Regions from separate parts of the Homo sapiens genome. Here regions 1, 2, 4 and 5 are each linked to region 3. The links are contacts of gene promoters, found by promoter capture Hi-C in blood cells and fetal thymus (Javierre and others, 2016). All regions are on one chromosome and are shown on one strand. Each heading gives the region's core, a stretch centred on a gene start or on the middle of the fragment in contact. The rest is flanking DNA. Distances are from core to core; before and after follow the strand shown.

Evidence for each region. The method cuts DNA at HindIII sites, captures the fragments that hold promoters and counts their contacts. A CHiCAGO score of 5 or more calls a contact.
Region 1: a contact is called between a fragment that was not itself captured here and the fragment with the promoter of FZD5 in region 3, in 6 of 17 cell types (megakaryocytes, endothelial precursors, M0 macrophages and 3 more). The highest score is 17.8, in megakaryocytes.
Region 2: a fragment that was not itself captured here is called in contact with the fragment with the promoter of FZD5 in region 3 in 7 of 17 cell types (M0 macrophages, M2 macrophages, megakaryocytes and 4 more); the score reaches 10.5 in M0 macrophages.
Region 4: a fragment that was not itself captured here is called in contact with the fragment with the promoter of FZD5 in region 3 in 5 of 17 cell types (megakaryocytes, M2 macrophages, M0 macrophages and 2 more); the score reaches 10.8 in megakaryocytes.
Region 5: a contact is called between a fragment that was not itself captured here and the fragment with the promoter of FZD5 in region 3, in 6 of 17 cell types (megakaryocytes, endothelial precursors, M0 macrophages and 3 more). The highest score is 8.0, in megakaryocytes.

Annotation. Positions count from the first base shown.
Region 1 is chr2:207,970,619-207,974,663 of GRCh38, reverse strand. All of the region lies in intron 3 of PLEKHM3 (pleckstrin homology domain containing M3), which reads left to right. Among named protein-coding and RNA genes, the nearest start is that of PLEKHM3, 53 kb to the left of the region's middle. RefSeq lists an enhancer at 3,606-4,045. The HindIII fragment of the contact is 5,414 bases long and covers 1-4,045 here.
Region 2 is chr2:208,010,203-208,014,156 of GRCh38, reverse strand. The region is part of intron 1 of PLEKHM3 (pleckstrin homology domain containing M3); the gene reads left to right. Among named protein-coding and RNA genes, the nearest start is that of PLEKHM3, 13 kb to the left of the region's middle. The HindIII fragment of the contact is 4,421 bases long and covers 1-3,954 here.
Region 3 is chr2:207,768,656-207,772,605 of GRCh38, reverse strand. FZD5 (frizzled class receptor 5) reads left to right here and starts at 2,700. Exons shown (of 2, transcript NM_003468.4): 1 at 2,700-3,341; 2 at 3,612-3,950. The coding sequence starts at 3,867. RefSeq lists silencers at 1-343, 2,400-3,079, 3,420-3,479, 3,890-3,949 and enhancers at 815-1,635, 1,800-1,849. The HindIII fragment of the contact is 9,976 bases long and covers 1-3,950 here.
Region 4 is chr2:207,952,573-207,956,773 of GRCh38, reverse strand. The region is part of intron 3 of PLEKHM3 (pleckstrin homology domain containing M3); the gene reads left to right. Among named protein-coding and RNA genes, the nearest start is that of PLEKHM3, 71 kb to the left of the region's middle. The HindIII fragment of the contact is 6,249 bases long and covers 1-4,201 here.
Region 5 is chr2:207,988,505-207,992,301 of GRCh38, reverse strand. All of the region lies in intron 2 of PLEKHM3 (pleckstrin homology domain containing M3), which reads left to right. Among named protein-coding and RNA genes, the nearest start is that of PLEKHM3, 35 kb to the left of the region's middle. The HindIII fragment of the contact is 8,087 bases long and covers 1-3,797 here.

The DNA of each region.
Region 1 (4,045 bases), core at 542-3,041, 200 kb before region 3:
AGTTCAGACATTCAATAATAATTTACTAAGTGCTTACTCTGGACATCCTGGAATTATGGTACACTTCCGTGGCTTTAGATTACAGACGTGGTCAGCAAATCTGTTGTGTTATTGGAGTAAGGAAGAACAGCTCAGCTTAGTTCTCAAGATGTGGAGATTGGAGTAGCTGAATCAAGAAACTTTCTAGTAAAAGAGGGAAGAAAAGCCTCAGGTATTTCACAAGAGGTATTGCCTAATTCACCTCCCTCTCAGAAGTGTGCCTTCTGATGGAGTGTGCACTGCCCATGCTCTGCACTGCATTCGTAGCATTCCTGACACTCAAGAGGAAGGAGAAATGTAGGTAAGAAGGTGCCATTCAGCAAGCTCATTCGCATCCGGCAGCTGGAGAAATGAAATCAGGAAAAAAAGAAAAGTGAGCAAAAGAAGGAGAAGGAAGCTGAGTAGAAAAGAACAGGAAACGTATTATTATAATATAATGGGCAGGAATAGAAATTTCTGGCAGCTGCCTTAGTTAGGTTCCATATGATAGGATGCTTCCCTTTGCTGTCTAAATTTTGTGCTCACGAAATTTGGCTTGTGGAGGATAGGTTGGGTAAGGGTAGTAGTACGGAATCAGGGGAGGAAGGCAGTCTAAAATTTATTTGCACTGCTTGACTTTTAACTTTGTGCTTTGGTTCGGAGTTTTAACGAACGGGGCAGAGAGAGACAGGTTTCTAATTTGGGACAGGGAGAAGTCAGTCTTATTTTGTATAGTGTGGCACATTCCAAAAAAAAAGAAAAGAAAGAAAAGCTGTTCCATTTATATGCCCTTTCTTCCCTCAGAAAGTGCTGCATTCAGTTGCTTTGTGATACTTGTGGTTTACCAGGTTGTTTTTCATACCAGCACTTGAACTCTGGTTTTCTTTCTTTTTTTTCTTTTTTTTTGAGATGGAGTTTCGCTCTCGTTGCCCAGGTTGGAGTGCAATGGCATGATCTCGGCTCACTGCAACCTCCGCCTCCTGGGTTCAAGTGATTCTCCTGCCTCAGCCTCCTGAGTAGCTGGGATTACAGGCATGCGCCACCACGCCTGGCTAATTTTGTACTTTTAGTAGAGATGAGGGTTTCTCCATGTTGGTCAGGCTGGTCTCAAACTCCCGACCTCAGGTGATCCGCTTGCCTCAGCCTCCCAAAGTGCTGGGATTACAGGCGTAAGCCACCGCCTGTGCCAGGCTGAACTCTGGTTTTCTAGGTAAGAATACTTTATTTCCTGATCTCCTGTAGGGGGCAGAGTCTCAAAAGAAAAAGGCCAAAACCTGTTAAGCAAACTTCTGAATGTTTTTTAAATTACCTGGGAGACTGTTCATTATATCAGAGATTATTATAGCAGATGGAACGTTAAAAATTGATCTGTGTTTCTCACAAACACAGTTAATCTAAACCAGCTGCTTCTTCCTTTTGTACCTATGTCTTCTAACTTTGCATCCTCATAAAAACACACCTTCAGTGAAAAAGCTGGTGGCATAGCATGTTGATCTTCCAAAATGCCAAAAACTTCAGCACATTGTTTTTGATGAGTTTTGGCTTTACGTATTATTTTAAGGAGAGGCTAATTCACTGTATTTCATGGTTTTAGTGTGCCCCTTTATAAGTTTTTATGTCTACTTAGTTCTTCCCCCTTTAAATAGTTTGGATGAATAAACTTTAGAAGTGGAAGATTGTATGGAGTAGCTCTTTGTTATGATGTCATTTACTTGCTATTCAGGGGAGCCACAAATGTTGGCTTTTAAATCTACAAAATAGTGCAATTGGCCTTATTTCATTAAATTATTTCTGTAAGTGAAGAATTTTCTATATCCTTCTTTAAAATTTAAACAGCCCTGCAGAAAAAAATGGACCATGGTTATGCAAAAATGCCTGAGGTTATGGTTTTAAAAATATATGCTGATACATAACGGTATATTTCTTAAATGTGTACTTGATTTTTGATAGTTGTATCTGATTATGTGTGACTGTTCCGTGGCTTCTTCTGCAGCTCCAGGGTTGCACTGAGCTTAGGAAGCCCCAGCCATAGTGGTCTTCTTTTTTTTTTTTTTTTTTTGAGACGGAGTCTCGCCCTGTTGCCCAGGCTGGAGTGCAGTGTTATGATCTCGGCTCACTGCAACCTCCGCCTCCTGGGTTCAAGTGATTCTCTTGCCTCATCCTTCCTTGTAGCTGGGATTACAGGCGTGTGCCACCAGGCCCGGCTAATTTTTGTATTTTTAGTAGAGACGGGGTTTTGCCATGTTGGTCAAGCTGGTCTCGAACTCCTGACCTCATGATCCACCGCCCCCCCGCCCCCCGGCCTCCCAAAGTGCTGGGATGACAGGCGTAAGCCACTGTGCCCAGCCTTATAGTGGTCTTCTTGCTGTTCCTGGAACCTACTATTATCATGCCTACCTCTAGGACCCTTACACTTGCTAGTTCTACTTCTTGAAATTTGAAAACTTAGTTGTTTCATTCATTCTGTCATTTATTGTGTGCCCAGAAACTTGGATGCACCTAGATGGGTCAGTGCTGGAGGAAAGCAGACATGGTCCTTGCCTTCATGAAATTTGCAGTCCACTAGGGAAGACATGAATCAAATAATCACATCAGTGAATGTCAAAAGGCAGCTGTGACAATTGCTACAGATGTGACGCCCATGCATTGGGTTAGAGAACTCTCAGAGATGGTGCCAGGTAGAACTATGTGAAATTGCAGATTTTTCAGTCATTTTTGACCTATAAAAGTAAAGACAGTTCAGATTACATTTTATGTTTGACCCTGAAGTCACAGAAGGTTCTTGAGCAGAGAAGCACATGATGGGAATGGTATGTAGGAACAGTTAATTTGGTGGTACAGCTTTTCGGGGACACCTGTAGCAGCAAATGAGGCATGCTTCTTCGGTGAAATTACTGGTTGAGGTTTAAAATTGTGTTTGGCAATGGGGAATCTGTGGTGCTATAGTATTAATGCTAAAACAAATGACTATACAGCTTATTAAAATATTTATGAAGTGTGTACCTGTATGTGATTCTATATTAGGTTATTCACAAAATGCCATATAAATTAGATTAAGGCAATAGCTCTTTTTTTTTTTTTAGTTAAAAAAAGTTTTAATTGACACAATATACATCTTTATGGGGTACATAGTGATATTGCAATACATATGTATAGTGATCAGATCAGGGTAATTAGCATATCCATTATCTCAAACATTTATCATTTCTTTGTGTTGGGAACATTCAGTATCTCCCTTCTAGGTATTTGAAACTACGTATTATTGTTAACTATAGTCATCCTATAGTGCTATTGAACACTAGAACTTATTCCTCCTATCTAAGCAGCTCTGTTTTCTTTAGGAATTTGACATTTGTACCTACCTATTTGCACTTAATAGATACATAGTTTTCTTGGCACTAGCACACACAGATATTTTTCCTATAATTTCCTAGCAATCAAGAAACCTTGCAATTGAGTACTATAATAAAAGGGCCCAAGGACTTGTTTCTGAGTGTGACAAGAGATGCAAAGCTCACCTTTGGAAGTGTTCCTTGTATGACTGTTTTGTAATCTGGAGATGAAATTGGATGGCCCACTGTAGGGCAGTGTTCCCAATTCTGAACTGAATTTGAACATGTTAACAGCAAAGACAGCAAGAAAAACAGTGAGCCTGGGGGATCCCCTACACCATTTTCACTGTGTCAGATTTTATGGTTTTACTCCTTGGCTGCTGTTTAACCTCTTGGGACTGCTGTTGGTAATTACATCTCTCTGGCATTAAGAGCTTTTTTGCTTTTCTTTTTTTCCCTCCAACCCTTGGGAGGGGTAAACCCAAGAGGTGGTGGGGAGAAGTTTTGCTGTGAATTCTTCAGCCATTTAGTGCAAATTCCTGTAATTACCGGCATTGTGTCTTCTCTGAATGGCACATAATACAGCAGAAGCCATTCCTAATTGAGACCTTACAGGAGGTACAAATCCCCTCTTTGTTCAGCCTGACAAATTAGTGCCAGAAAGTGGCAGGGTCTGAGTGGGAATCAAAGGCAAG
Region 2 (3,954 bases), core at 793-3,292, 240 kb before region 3:
GTTAAGAGGCTGATTGGTAGCCAAGGTTGTTGTCACAGATTAAGTCCAAAAGGGAGGGAGAGGTCATAGATGCAGCCCATCACTGCTGAGTATGTCTGCCCTTTCAAACAAGAGGTGAGTCACCTTTTTGCTTAGATCTTATCACTGGTCTCATACTCTCGGGATGCCAGTTAACAAAGACCTAGGCTCACTTTTTAGCAGGTTCAAGTTCAGCAGAGACAGAAAATAAATCAACTAATTACTTCTCTCATACATTTACTCTGAATGCCCATAGAAACTGGTTTGTGAGAGTGTGCTAAGCCATAAGCCGGTTGTTGTTTTGAAGGTTAAAGTTTTAAGTATTCTCCCTTCTGCTGGTGAGTTGCAATGACCAAAAGAGTTAAAGTCAACAGGAAGTGAGGGAATTATTAATTTCCCATGACATCCTCACCACCCAGCAAAGGCCTTCTGTTGGACAGGAATGTGTCTGTGGGTCAGAAAGACTTGAACAGCTTGTGAAGAAGGCCTTTGCATTCTTGCCTTCCATGTGTGGTTGTTAGTTCACATAGTGCTCACTCTCTGGTGGAACCTTTGAGGCTGTTATTGTAGGCTGACAGCTTCATGCAAGAAGCAGCATGATTTCTTTTTTTTTTTTTCTTTTTGAGATGGAGTCTTGCTCTGTTGCCCAGGCGGGAGTGCAGTGGTGTGATCTCGGCTCACCACAACCTCCGCCTCCTGGGTTTAAGCAATTCTCCTGCCTCAGCCTCCTCAGTAACTGGGACTACAGGCACGCGCCACCATGCCTGGCTAATTTTTATATTTTTAGTAGAGATGGGGTTTCGCTATGTTGGCCAGGCTGATCTCAAACTCCTGACCTCGTGATCTGCCTGCCTCGACCTCCCAAAGTGCTGGGATTATAGGCATGAGCCACCATGCCTGGCCCACAGCATGATTGCTGGAGCAGGAATGATTGGTTTTGTTGTATGTTTTTGTTTCCTTTGTTTTTGATTTCTTTCGACTGAAGTAATCTCTGTATACCTATCATTGTCATTTAATTGTGTTCTGTTACTTAAAATTCTTTATTGTCCCTTAATTAGTAATGATTCCTTATTTATGCTTGTATAACACCTTTGTATACTTCTGTTGAAGTGCTTTTTATATTTGGTTTTGTGTCTTACTTTCCACTAGCTATTTAGCTCTTCAAGAGCAGGAGCTGTGTTTTGTGTCTAATATCTCACATAGTGTTTGGGTACTTGGTCCGTCCTCTATAAATGCTTGTTGAGGATAAATGGTTATGTGATTAGAAATCAGCTAACTTCTAATAGAAGTAGTAATTGTTTTAGAGTTTGTAAAGAACTTTCACATACTTTGTCCACATTTGTGCTTCTCTGCTTTCTCAGGTAGATGGGAGCAGGCATTGGCAGGACTTCCATTTGCAGATAAGAAGGGCACAGAGGCCCTGAGTCAGCCTGACTTGCTGGATGTCAGTTAGCTCAGAAGGCAGTGTGGGGACATGACCCTTTCCTGGTGTCATAAATTTATGTTCTTCCCATTGCCACACTTCTCTCACACTGAACAAACTCAATACTTAGTCTGAGTGGCTGAGGGGTTGGATTCAGCCTACTCACTCCTTGTTTATGGTCCTTCTACTAACATCAGGGCCCCTGTATGATTTAAGGTGATTTAAAAGGTAATTGAACTTGGGTGGCCCAAAGTACTCAGTAATTAGACAAGGATTTGAGGAACTTCGTTTTCTTTTCTTTGGGAACTACAATTGACAATAAATGAATCATGGGTTCTCTTTCATCATCTTTAAAATAGTCCCATTACTTTACTCACCTCTCTTTTTTGAGGTTACTACAAGTATTTATTAAGAAGTTTATCAGGCAGGCGGATCATGAGCTCAGGAGATGGAAACCATCCTGGCTAACACGGTGAAACCCCGTCTCTACTAAAAAATACAAAAAAATTAGCCGGGCGTGGTGGCGGGCACCTGTAGTCCCAGCTACTCGGGAGGCTGAGGCAGGAGAATGGTGTGAACCCGGGAGGCAGAGTTTGCAGTGAGCTGAGATCGTGCCACTGGACTCCAGCCTGGGCGACAGAGCGAGACTCCGTCTCAAAAACAATAAATAAATAAAATAAAGAAGTTTATCAGAGTTCGAGACCAGCCTGGCCAATATGATGAAACCCCATCTCTACTAAAAATACAAAAGATTAGCCAGGCCTGGTGGCGGACACCTGTAATCCCAGTTACTCAGGAGGCTGAGCAGGAGAGTCACTTGAACCTAGGAGGCAGAGGTTGCCGTGAGCCGAGATCACACCATTGCACTCTAGCCTGGGCAACAAGAGTGAAGCTCCGTCTCAAAAAAAAAAAAAAAAAAAAAAAAAAAAAGTTTATCAGAGCACTTAAAAATTTTTTTTATTCCATAGGTTTGTGGGGAACAGGAGGTATTTAGTTACTAAGTTCTTTAGTGGTGACTTGTGAGATTTTGGTGCAACCATCCCCCAGGCAGTATACACTGAACCCGATTTGTAGTCTTTTATTCCTCACCCCCTCCCCACCCTGTCCCCCTAAGTCCCCAAAGTCTATTTTCTCATTCTTATGCCTTTGAATCCTCATAGCTTAGCTCCCATTTGTGAGTGAGAACATACGATGTTTGGTTTTTCATTCCTGAGTTACTTCACTTAGAATAGTAGTCTCCAATCCCATCCAGGTTGCTGTAAATGCCATTAATTGATTCCTTTTTATGGCTGAGTAGTAGTGCATCATATATATCTATATGATGTATAGATATATATATCTCACAGTTTCTTTCTATTCGTTGATTGATGAGCATTTGGGTTGGTTCCACATTTTCGCAGCTGCAAATTGTGCTACGATAAACATGCATGTGCAAGTGTCTTTTTCGTATAATGACTTCTTTTCCTTTGGGTAGATACCTAGTAGTGGGATTGCTGGGTCAAATGGTAGTTCTACTTTTAGTTCTTAAAGGAATCGCCACACTATTTTCCATGGTGGCTGTACTATCTTACATTCCCACCAGCAGTGTAGAAGTGTTCCCTTTTCACCACATCCACGCCAACATCTATTTTGTTTTTTTTTTTTTTTTTTTGATTATGGCCATTCTTGCAGGAGTAAGGTGGTATCACATTGTGGTTTTGGTTTGCATTTCCCTGATCATTAGTGATGTTGAGCATTTTTTCATATATGTATTGGCCATTTGTTATCAAGCACTTTAAACTTTATTCTAAACCATGCATGTGAAAAATGATTATTTTCTGTAAAAACCAAGTGATTTTTTCCTGAGATTAACTCAGTTTTAGTTTTGTGAGATAATTAGATAAACACAGTCCTGTATTGAATTTAGAAACACAGCCTCTATTACTCAGGCTCAAGTAGAAGATTCTAAATAGTTATATAAACTGATGACATCTTTAAGTCTACTTCCCCAGCCCTTTCTGGGTATCTTGCATATTTGGTCTCACTGTACTTCCTTGTTACATTCACTGTTGCAGTCAGCCACACTAGCTGGCTTGGCCCTGATGGAACCTACTTGCACCTCACCTGTGACTCCTGTTGCAGTTGGAGGCTGATAAAGTTTTTATCATGGAAGTTTTTGCCTTCTTCCTCTCAGTCCCAAGATAAAGCTAATTCAAGTGGTTCTTTTGTTTGTTTTCTAGTCAGTGTTCTCTGCCATGGAGGCAAAGGGAGATGGAAAACATCAAGTCTGCATTTTTAGACATTTCGTAACTGAAGTTTGTGTCTTCCTGCTTTGTTTCTAAGAGCAAGACATATTGGATCTCTGGTGGTTTTATGAAAATGGGCCATTTTGGTTTTCCAATTTCACATAAAGGTGCAGTAACACTGCTGCCTTCAGTCGCAAAGCAATCTGAGATTTAAAGTGCCATGCTTATATTTAGTTAGGTTTCTGAGGCAGCAAATGTCTCAATGATTTTGCAGGTGGCAAACAATAA
Region 3 (3,950 bases), core at 1,451-3,950:
GCATCTGTAAAATGTAAACTGCTTTGGCATTGGTGGGAGTGTCTTTTAGCATGCTAATGTATTATAATTAAGTTACAATAAGCAGTGAGGACGACCAGAGGTCACTCTCCTGGCCATCTTGGTTTTGCTGGGTTTTTGCCGGCTTCTTTACTGCGCCCTGTTTTATCAGCAAGGTCTTTATGGCCTGTATCTTGTGCTGACCTCCTATCTCACCCTGTTGACTTAGAATGTCTTCACCTCCTGGGAATGCAGCCCAGTAGGTCTCAGCCTTATTTTACCCAGTCCCTATCCAAGATGGAGTCGCTCTGGTTCAAATGCCTCTGACAGAACCGTGTGAAATAACACAAATATTCTGGCTAAATTCCAGTGTGAGTGATTAACATTCTCCAACTTCAAATAATTTTTATTATTAGCCAACACTTGTCCATCCCCAGTAATACACACGTTGCATAAAGAGCACAGAATGAGATGGGCCTCCCTTGGCATGTTCATAGTCTGCACATACTTTCCACTGAGGGCTTCCCTTTCTTGCTCACTGCTATGCCCACAGCTTTTCAACTCCCACTATTTTCAACCCTGGGATGCTTCCTGACCCAGAGTGGCAAGTAATTCCAAAACACAAGAGATAAAATATGAACACCTGTAGAATTCCAGAGAAAGAAAGATGTAAGGTATATTTATTCATTTATTTAATTATGTATTTTAGAGTTGGGGGTCTTGCTATGTTGCTCAGGCTGGTCTGCAAACTCCTGGGTTCAAGCCATCCTCCCACCTCAGCCTCCCAAAGTGTTAGGATTACAGGCGTGAGCTATGGCGCCCGGCCTTTTAAACGTTTATTAATAGTTTTGATATCCGCGAAGTGATTGATATTTGTTCCTTTTTAACTTGGAGGCTGGGATTAACACACGTGTTCTTCATTATTGCCCACAAAGCGTTGTTGATACGCAGGAGGGGAGTGGCACTTCCGCAATTTATTCTTCCAACCTGTGCCAATGGGATCCAGCACAGGAGATGGACAGTAACCCGCGGTTGATCTGGATCTAGTCCAGTTAGTCCAGTCCCTATCCCTTCAAGTGTCCCCAGGCCCTCTTGCCTATTTTCGCCCTTTGCCCAGTGGAAGGAAAAGTTTGGGGAGAAGGAAAAAATTTAAACCCTCTTCCTAGGCGTGTGAATGTATTTCAAGTATGCTAAATACCTCAGTCTTCCAATCTAATTACAACACATAGAAAAGAGGCATTTTTAGGACATTTAAAACTTGTAGCATAATTGCGCAACTGAAGAGCGCCGCCGTGTCCCCGCCATCGGTGCGCCCTCCGACCCCCCGCGGCGCGCAAGTGCGCGGCTTAGCAGCAGGCAGCCGGGGACGGAAGGGCACGGGGAGGCCGGCGCCCTGCCCAGCACAGAACCCTGGGTCGGTATCGCTTCTCTCTGCGGGCGACTTCGGAACTGCCTGGGATTATAAACCTCGACCAATAAAGGACTCACATCTTTCTGGGTCTTCTAAAGGCAGAAAGAAATCCATTTTCTTGTCACAACAAGATTTTGTTAAGAGATGCAAAAGTAAAGGTCGAAGCCAGGGAGGCTGCGATAGTATGGGGGGAGGGGCGGCTACGATGGTGAGTGCCGCTGACCAACTACCTGGGTTCGAATCCCAGGGTTGCCATTTGGGCGGCTACTATGTGCCAGGTGATCGGAATACGGAGGTGAACTTGCTTGCCGAGGTCGCCCTTTCTTGGGGGAACTATGATTAGCTCGGTTGCCTTGGCCAAGTCTCAGTCTCGGTTTCTTCACCTGTAGGAAGTACCTGCCTCAGAATTGTTGTAAGGAGTGAGATCTTGTCTTAAGATGTAAACGGGCCGGGCGCGGTGGCTCACACCTGTAATCCCAGCATTTTGGGAGGCCGAGGCGGGCAGATCACGGTGTCAGGAGTTCGAGAACAGCCTTACATGGTGAAAGCCCGTCTCTACCAAAAATACAAAAATTAGCTGGGCGTGGTGGCGGGCGCCAGTAATCCCAGCTACGCAGGAGGCTGAGGCAGGATAATCGCTTGAACCCGGGAGACAGAGGTTGCAGTGAGCCGAGATCGCGCCACTGCACTCCAGCCTGGGAGACAGAACAACTCGTCTCAAAAAAAAAAAAAAAAAAAAAGGATGTAACCGATTAACACTTTGTTGGGCACACAGTAAAGGGCTCAGTAAGTATCCTCTCTTCTTTCACACAGTTCCAAGACAGCTCGGAAGGGAGACAGCCACGCCTAAGAGTGATTCCTTGAGCAGTTCTTTCAAAGAAGCACTGAACTCTGTAAGGACGCTTAGCTGCAGGCAGAAAGGGCAGGGGCCCTGGGAGCAAAGGTGCATAAGCCAGGAAGTTACAGGAGCGAGTCCTGCACCCAGGGCGCGGGCAGAGAACTCCGGAGGGACTTCTGGCAAGGGCTTCCCGCCCGGGTGCCCAGAGCGGCATGATTAGCATTCGCCCCGCCCCCATCTCCTCCAGGCCCGCGATTGGTCAGCGCTCCTTGGCTGCCCGCTCCTGGCGGGGCCAGAGGGCGCCGGGGGAAAGGCCGAGCCCGCGGGGCAGTGGGCGGGGACGCGCGGAGAGCTTGGCGAGGCGGCCCACCAACCGCGCCCGGGCCTGAGGGGGCGGAGCCGGGGCGGGGCTTCCCGGCGGGCATTAGAAGCAGGTGACCCGGGCGGGGCGGGAGAGGGCAGCCAGCCTGCGGCCGTGAGTCCGCTGTGGTCGCCGCCGCGCGCGGTTCCGTGCTCGCCAGAGGTGGGCGAAAGGGTGCGAGAGCGCGGGGGAGGAGCCGAGCAGGGCACGTCCCGAGAGCGTCGCCACCGCCCCCAGGAGTCCACTGGAGCGCGGAGCCCCCTGCAGGGGAGGAGGCGAGCGGCGGGCGGGACGCGGCGGCCGGCGCTCACCATGCAGTCCCGGCCTGGCCAGCGCCGGCTGCTCGCGGTGCTGTGAGGCGGCGGGGTCCCACGGCCCCCGCCTCCCGCCTTCCTCCCGCCCAGGTGCTGCCAGGCGCGCTCGCCCTCCGTCCGGCTCCCGGCCCCGGGGAGAACGCACGGCCTGCCCCTGCCCGGCTCCGTCTGGATCATGCGGGGGGCTCCCGAGGAGGAGAGGGCGAGTGACCGGCCTGCGCCGCCCCTGTTCTGGGGGCGCCCCCCACTCTGAGTCGCCCCCACCTGCTGCCATGTGCCGCTGCCACGGGTACCCAGCCTGTCGCTAAACTTTCCGGGCGCCAGCCCGGCTCTGAGTCGCGCTTCTCAGCGGAGTGACCCAGGGACGGAGGACCCAGGCTGGCTGGGGACTGTCTGCTCTTCTCGGCGGGATCCGTGGAGGTGAGAACCTTCCCTTTCTCCCTGTTCTTCTCCCGTTTCCTGTGCCCTTTTCCGGGAAGCTGAGGGTTCTGGTCTCCGGGCACTGCCTGAAGGGCCCAGCTTGGAAAGAGAGGGTGGGGGAGTCGGTAGTTTGGTTACAGGAGGCGGAGCGGGGAGGAAAGGAAAGGGGTTAACTTAAGAGATTTGGAGACAGCTCGCGGGGACCGAACTGTTGACGCCTCTCCAACAGGGAGTGGTTGCAATCTTTCTTCTCCCCCTTCTTTTTTAAAGAGTCCTTTCCCTGGAATCCGAGCCCTAACCGTCTCTCCCCAGCCCTATCCGGCGAGGAGCGGAGCGCTGCCAGCGGAGGCAGCGCCTTCCCGAAGCAGTTTATCTTTGGACGGTTTTCTTTAAAGGAAAAAGCAACCAACAGGTTGCCAGCCCCGGCGCCACACACGAGACGCCGGAGGGAGAAGCCCCGGCCCGGATTCCTCTGCCTGTGTGCGTCCCTCGCGGGCTGCTGGAGGCGAGGGGAGGGAGGGGGCGATGGCTCGGCCTGACCCATCCGCGCCGCCCTCGCTGTTGCTGCTGCTCCTAGCGCAGCTGGTGGGCCGGGCGGCCGCCGCGTCC
Region 4 (4,201 bases), core at 367-2,866, 190 kb before region 3:
AACATAGCAAGACCCCTGGGTCTCTGCAAAAAAAAAAAAAAAAAAAAAAAAAAAATTTTAATCAGCCAGGTGTGGTGGCATGCACCTGTAACCTTTGATACCCAGGAGGCTGAGGTGGGAGGATCACTTGAGCCCAGGGGGTTGAGGCTGCAATGAGCCATGATTGTACTACTGTACTCCAGGCTGGGTGACAGAGTAAAACCTTGTCTCCAAAATTTAAAAAAAAAAATTTTTTTTTTAAGTTTACTTTGCTACTCTGCTTCAAACTCTGGTTGTTCCTATATCTTTTTTTATTTTTTTTGAGATGGAGTCTCATACCGTTGCCCAAGCTGGAGTGCAATGGTTCAATCTTGGCTCACTGCAACCTCCGCCTCCTGGGTTCAGGTGATTCTCCTGCCTCAGCCTCCCAAGCAGCTGGGACTACAGGCACCCACCACCACGCCCGGCTAATTTTTTTTTGTGTGTATTTGTAGTATAGATGGGGTTTCACCATGTTGGCCAGGCTGGTCTCAAACTCCTGACCTCGTGATCTGCCTGCCTTAGCCTCCCAAAGTGCTATATCTTATTAATTAGGACTTCTCACTCTGAGCACTCAGGATTCTTATGTTCTAGCTTCACTTTATCATTCCAAGCTCTTTTCTTCATACTCCTCTATTTACAATGAGCCTCAGACAACTAGAATATCCAGTGTTTCCAAAGGTGCTTCCATTTTTCTGACTTGAGCCTTTATGAATGAACGTTCCTTTTCCAAAATCTCTTCTCTTCTTCAAGACCCAGCTCAAATGCCCCTGTGTCGACACAGCCTTCCTCGATCTCCACAATAGTGATTGCTTCCTCCTTTCCTCATCTCTTATCTTCTGCTGTTTACTTTATAGATTTGTATTCTTCTTCCCCTCACCCTTCATCTTCAGAGGTGATGCTAATGCCTGTGATGTCCCAGGCTATATTCATTGATGAGCTAAATTATGTTCTTTTATGTAAATTGATTCATAGTTTTTGTCCTTGTTTTGTCATCTGCAGGGGACAGTTTTTCTAATGTCTTACAAAAGGAGATAACTACCTGAAAATGCCACATTGCCACTTTTATTAGGCTCTGCCTTTTAAGCAGCTGTACAACAGTGGACAGAATTACTTTTTCATCTTCTGCCTCAGTTTCTTATTCTGTAAAATGGGCATAATACCTACCTCATAGAATTGGTATGAGGATTAAATGAACAGAGACATACACATGTATTTACATATGTTCGTTTGTGTGTATGTAAAGTAGTTATGACAGTGCCTGGCTTATAGTAAGCCTGTCTTACATAAGGTGTTTGCTTATAATGTGTTTATCCATTTGCTTAGTTCTTATTTATTTATTTTTATTTTTAAATTGCTTACCATTTTCTTGAAAGACTTTGGGGAAAGAACATAGAAGTAAATGAGAAAGTCTAGTCATAGACTGTTAGGAAAAAAACAGGATGAAAAAAATACTAAGTTTAGACTGATTTCAATATACTAGAAGCTGAATTTGTAAGATTTTATTATTAATATTAAACTTATCTTACACCAATAAAAGCACTATTGAAGCATCTTATCCTAAGAAAAATTAAAAGTAACTCAACAACTCAAGTCATGTCTTCGGAAGTGAAAATCTGTATTACAGATCATTATACTTACAACTTTTGGGGTAGATATTTCATAGAAAGCAGTCAGATTCTCTAAAATGGTGTACATATTTACTTACGTGCTTTAGCAAAAATCAAGATTTATTGCCTTTCAAGATAAATTTTGACTAAATATTGACTTTAGGTTCTCAATCATTGTTTACCTGAAAGACCAATAAATCTTGACACTTCTCAACTTGAGTTGGAATCTACTTGGTATTTATTAATTTATTTCACACGATTTATAATCTTAATAACAACATTCCATGAGATTAAATAAACATTGTAGAGTTTAGCAAGTTTATATTTTCAGTCAGCAGTAATTACTTGACATGTGATTTTCACTTCATTTCTTATTTAAATATAGTACCTCTAGCACTGTTAACACAACGTAGGTCCTACATGTCAAAGCTGACTTAGCTATTTAAATATTCAGAGGGGGAAAACCCAAATAACTCTTAATAGCTTATAGAATTGCTTTACATTTTAAACCAATTAGTATTCAGATTGGAGTTTCTAATCTGAATTGATTTTATTTTTTTGGTTGCCTTAGTTCTGCAAGTATAATCTACTAATACATGATTATACGTCATAGATGGCCTCTGTCTTGGACAGTTTATGTCTGTTGGTTTTGATCTCTGTTTCATGCATCTGTCTGTTCTTGTCTCTCTCTCTAGATATAATGTGTATTGAACATTCACTGTGTCTCAGCACAGTACTAATACTTTACAAACATAATATTTGCCATATTGTTGTGTTGACAGGGTTTTTAGAGACAGGGTCTCGTTCTGTCACTTAGGTTGGTGTGCAGTGGTACAATAATAGCTCATTGAACCCTCGAACTCCTGGGCTCAAGGTATTCTCCTGCCTCAGCCTCCAAAGTAGCTGGGATTGCAGGTGCAGACCACCACACCTGGCTAATTTTTTAGAAATTTTTGGAAAAAATGGGGCCTCACTCTATTGCCCAAGCTGGAGTGCCATGGTGCGATCATAGCTCTCTATAACCTCGAACTCCTGGCCACAAGCAATCCTCCCATCTTGGTCTCCAAAAGTACTGGGATTACAGGTGTGAGCCACCAGTGCCTGGCTGGAAATTCTTTGGTTAGGTACATTCAGTGTGTCTAGGAGGAGTTACTTACTTCTATGAGATTCTTAAGGACAGAGCTGTCCTAGCTATAGCAGTAGTCCATTCTACAAGTGCCAGCTGAAGTTAACCTAAATGTGTGTCACCCATGGTAGGAACATGGTTTTTAACATGTCAGCTCTCTGTGCAGTGGAACTTTATTCTTTTTTTTTTTTTTTTGTAGACAGAGTCTTGCTTTGTGGCCCAGGCTGGAGTACAGTGGCACAATCTCAGCTCACTGCAGCCTCTGCCTCCCAGGTTCCAGCAATTCTCCTGCCCCAGGAAAAGCAGGGATTACAGGCATGTAGCTGGGATTACAGGCATGTGCCATCACACCCAGCTAATTTTTGTGTTTTTAGTAGGGGTTTCACCATGCTGTTTTTAGTAGAGGTTTCACCATGTTGGCTAGGCTGGTCTCAAACTCCTGACCCCAAGAGATCTGTCCACCTCAGCCTCCCAAAGGATTATAGGCATGAGCCACCACACCCGGCTTGTGCAGCGGAAATTTATGAGTCAGTTTCAGCCAACAAGGAATGACAATTTCTCATATATAATCTCTCACTGCTATAAAATTTGTAGATGAACATAAAACGAAGCCCATCAGAAAAAAAAAATTCTGATGAACAGAAATGAATTTTTGTGTAGCTTTGGAAACAACCATCAGTACATTTCAGGATTGTATTTGAGCATGTGTATTTCCTCCCAACTGTGAAGTTTTCAACTCCTGGGAAGAGAATTCACTATGAAGGGACTTAAAGGCTTATGGAGAAAATAATTTTGAAGTGTTGCAGTCTAAAGTCCATGAACTCAACCCAAAGACTATCAGCTGCATGCCATACTATCCGCATTAGCAATTACACGTGGCACGCAATTGATTTTTTCCGGATTTCCCCTATTGTTCCTTTAGTTTTATTTGAGATGCTGTGGATACTATTTGCTTTGTAACCGACAGAACGTATACTTAATGGCATGTGCCTGATTCTCCATCCAAATGTTTAATGTCTTAATTGATTTATGGCTAAACAGATAGCTCCTACTTTATGGGTCACCACCTTGTCCCAAAGACAGAATAACTTGGATGCTTGGGATGCAAAAAGTATTGGATCACTGATTTTTGAGTAGATGTTTCTCAGTGTCCCTCACTCTTTACCCCCTTTCTACTTTACAGTTATGTAGAATTCTATAGCTTCAGTTTCACCATGTTAACTTCAGACTACATATGTGTGGTCAGTCTCAAATTTCAGCTCTGTTCCCTCTGACAGTGGAGGATGCAAATATGGGGCCCAGGTTTGCTTTGCCTCTACTTCCTTTAATGGACCTCAAAGCTACATTGCAAAAATTGCTTGTGCCCTGTGTCAAATAATCCTTTCTTTAAACACTGTGCCCAACTTTGTGCTAATCCCAGGGAGGACTTTGAATTGTATACCAAATG
Region 5 (3,797 bases), core at 437-2,936, 220 kb before region 3:
GAGGAAACTGAGGCTTAGAGAAGATGACCTCATCCAAGCCTATGCAGCTAGTATGTGGCAGGGCTAGGATTCTAAGCCAAGTCTAACTCCAAGACTGCACATAACCACTGTGTTAAACCGCTTCTCCAGCCTGAGGAAGGCTAGGACTCATTCCCTCCACCACAAATAAAACACAGTGTGATCTAGATTTAAAGTCTGGAGGTTGGAGTTCCACTCTCAACTTGCCCACTTTGTGGTATAACCTTGGCCAAGTCATTTTGCTTCCTGGAACCTCTTTCCAAATGTGTTCAGTCAGTCAGAATGCTTTCAGAAGCAAGTAACAAAATACTCAACCAAAAGTGGCACAAATAGTAAGGCCAAAATATCACTGTAATTTTTCTTTTATCTGACAGATAACTATTGAGCACTTAGTGAATGTCGAGGACTTATGCAATAAACACTTCACAGGATACCCAGGGGTAGGTGGTCTTGGGGTCATCCAGGACCTACAGGCTTTCCATCTTTTTGCTTTGTTTTCCTTGGTATATTGGTGATTTCTCTTCTCTCCCATCATTGGTACAAAGTGGCTACAGCTGCCCCAAGGATCATTTTAAAAAACATTTTCCTAACTTCCCAAATGTGTTAGGATCATTTTCTTAAATACCAACAGTAAAAACCAGGAAGAGAGAGAGCAGGGCATCTCTTCTGGGTCTTTTTTTCCAGAGGCTCCCAATAGCACCCGCTCCTTGGCCAGAACTGGGTCACATGTCCACCCCTAAGGCAATCTCTGGCAAAGGAAAATAGGATTACTGTGATTGGATTAAACAAATTATTATTCTTTTTACAGGGCAGGGGAGAGGCCATCTTTCCTGAGCATATTGCCCCCATACCTGAACAAAATTAGGGTTCTGTTAATGAAGGCAGCTGATAGGTTTTGCCTTACATGTGGATGTGCTAGTGGGATTTCTAGGATCTCTTCCAGCTCTAAGTCTCTATAATTCTGTAGGCTGCATCAAGAAATTGTAATGGAATGCCATTTATGCCTAAAATCCAGCAGCCTAAGTATGGGAGGGTCTTTTATATTTAATTCCTATAGATTAGATATATAGAGCCAAAAGCTCACCATGGCAAAGAATAAGCATGGTTTGAAAGGTGATGTTTGGAATTGTTTCCTGGGTCCAAAACCTCAACAGAGGCTAAGGCTTGCCCTCATCACAGAAGACAGAAAATCTCTGCTTTTAAAAAGTTGGATCTGTGATCTCCTAGTCAGGTTCACACTTGAGAAAAATTGGCCAGGAATGTATTGACTTATGCTCTATCACTGTTGCCCATAGCAAAGAACTGGATGGAAGAGATCCCTAAACTGGTATATCTAGTTAATGTTAATATGTAGCCAGATATGTTACAGGTCTGTTTCCACTAGAGCTGACATAGGTAATCTTTTTCCTAGGTTTATGAAGGGAAAATGAATGGAATATCCTCTTTTTACCCAAAAAGAAAGTCTCCAAAGTAGCCATAGAAAAGACTAGTTCATTTCTACCAGAACAAATTTGTTAATAAAAATATCTGTGGAATACCATCTGTGTACTCCACTGGCCAACACTGTACGAGGGCCTGTGGAGCATATTAAATATGTGCAAGACACAGTCCAGCTTTGATTCCTGTAGTATCACTCTCTTCATGTTCTTTGCTATGGACATGTGTGGCAGTGTCATGATTAGTGTGCCCCGATGTGCCTGTAATGAGGAGAACAAAGACCTAAAATTAGTTCATTTTTTCCGTTTGTTTCTGGCTTGAACATAGTCGAGTACTATAATATGAAACAAATTGACTTGGAAAACTGTATTTTATTAACCAGGAATGCAAAGAAAAGAGTGATGATTGTGACTCAGAATGCCAGAGGAGTCTTCATTGAGGAAAGGCTATTTCAGCTGAGCTTTGAGGATTGAGCACAAAGTCAAGGTGGAAAGAACACAGCGTATGTATGAGATGGTCAGGAGGCTAACCTAGAACAGGGGTACATTTTGGAGTAGTGAGCTGAGACTTTGGAGGACCTTCAAAGCCATATGAATAGACTTACTGTGATATATTTGGCAAGAAGCAACCACACATGTCTTGAGACTCAAGATTAAAAGGGTATTTAATAAGAAATATGGAAGTTGGTGGGGTGAAAGTGGTGATAGGGTAGCAGGGACCCTCCTTTTCAGTGGCTTTATGTGTCCATGTAAAGGGACGTCAGCTGGAATAGCACTCTTGGCCTCCGTCCATCCCTTTGCACACCCCACCCATGAGAAGGAGGAGTGACTTATTGGCAAGTTTAGGAGAGGAACCAGGTAATTCAGCTGCTGTCCTAAGAGCACTAATTCTGGTCCGCTCCCCCAGATCTGCTCCTCCATGCCATCAGCCCTTCATGGGCAGTTTCCCAGGAGGGGAGGCCTCTGGCTATCCAGTGATGCTTGTGACTCAGAGGTAAGTCTCTGAAATCCTGGGGTTCAATTTGCTGCTACGCAACTAAGTTGCATCCTCCAACTGTCTGATGTTTTGATCCCCATGTATCTGACCACCCTCTGTCTATCTCAATTGGTTCAAAAGTTGGGTGAGGAAAAGGAAGGCTCTTCAGTGGGTCTCCTCAGGCCCCAACAGTGCATGGAATGATTGGTAGGTGGAAAGAACTAAGGGATGGAAACCAATCAGAAGGTCTGCCAGGCGTCATGATGTGTGATGAGGACTCAGATTAGTGTTGAGGACTCAGATTAGTGTGATAGTGGCAATAAAGAGAAAGTGGGACTTGTGAAAAGGAAAAGAAAGGCTGTAATTGGGGATAGATGGAGGATAATGGATGAAGGAAAGGGAAAATCTAAGTGAAGGCCCACCATCTGGAATGCTCTTTACCCCTTCCTGCCGTCTCTGAATATCAATTCTATCCTGTCTTCAAAGTCTACCTCAGATACCACCTCCTTCTCAAGACTTTTAAGAACTTCCCAGGCAAAAGCCCTCTCTTTCTTCTCTTGCGTGTTAGAAGGCTCTGAGTACTTTATGCTGCATATTGCAGATACTTTGGGGCCCATCTTTTCTCCACTATGGGCTATAAACTCTGTTGACACGATCTGTGTCTGATTGGTTTGGTATCTCCACAGATTGTAGCAAAGTCCTTTGCTGATACAGTCAACAATATTTATGGAGCTAGCCTCTGGTATTCAGGAAGGAGAGAGATATCAAGGTTCCTGTTCTCAGGAGGAGAGAGTTCTTTGAAGGAAATAAAGCAAGAGGTGTGATGGAGAACGATTGAGGGGCTCTTTAACCTGAGTGTTTAAGGGATGGCTTCACTGAGGACAGCACTTTTGAGGTGAAAAATTGAGAGAGGCAAATAAGGTATTGGAGCTGGGGAGAGAAGCCCCAGACAGAGAACATGGCAACTCAGAGGCCTCGGAGCTAGAATGTGCTTGGCTTGTTCAAGGAACATAAGAGAGGATTGTGGCTGGAGCGAGACAAGGGTTATAAGATGATATGAGATGAGGCCAGAGCAATAGCCAGAGGCCAGGTCATGTGGACCAGGAAGAAGAGGCGTTGTAAGCACATGGAATCTGAAGGAAGAAGACGGGTTCAGCCATAAGGGGGTAGGTCAAGCAAATAATTTTTTAATAGACACAGTAAACCTTGGGATATTGGAAGATGGAGAAAAGGAGGTTAGTAGAGAGAGAATTGCAACATATTATAGAGGAATGGATTCTAGAGAAGTAGGAAGGAATTTGTTAACAGAGTAGAGGTGGAAGGGTCTGCTATAGCAAGGAAGCAAAATGTTTCTTCTTTTGATACTA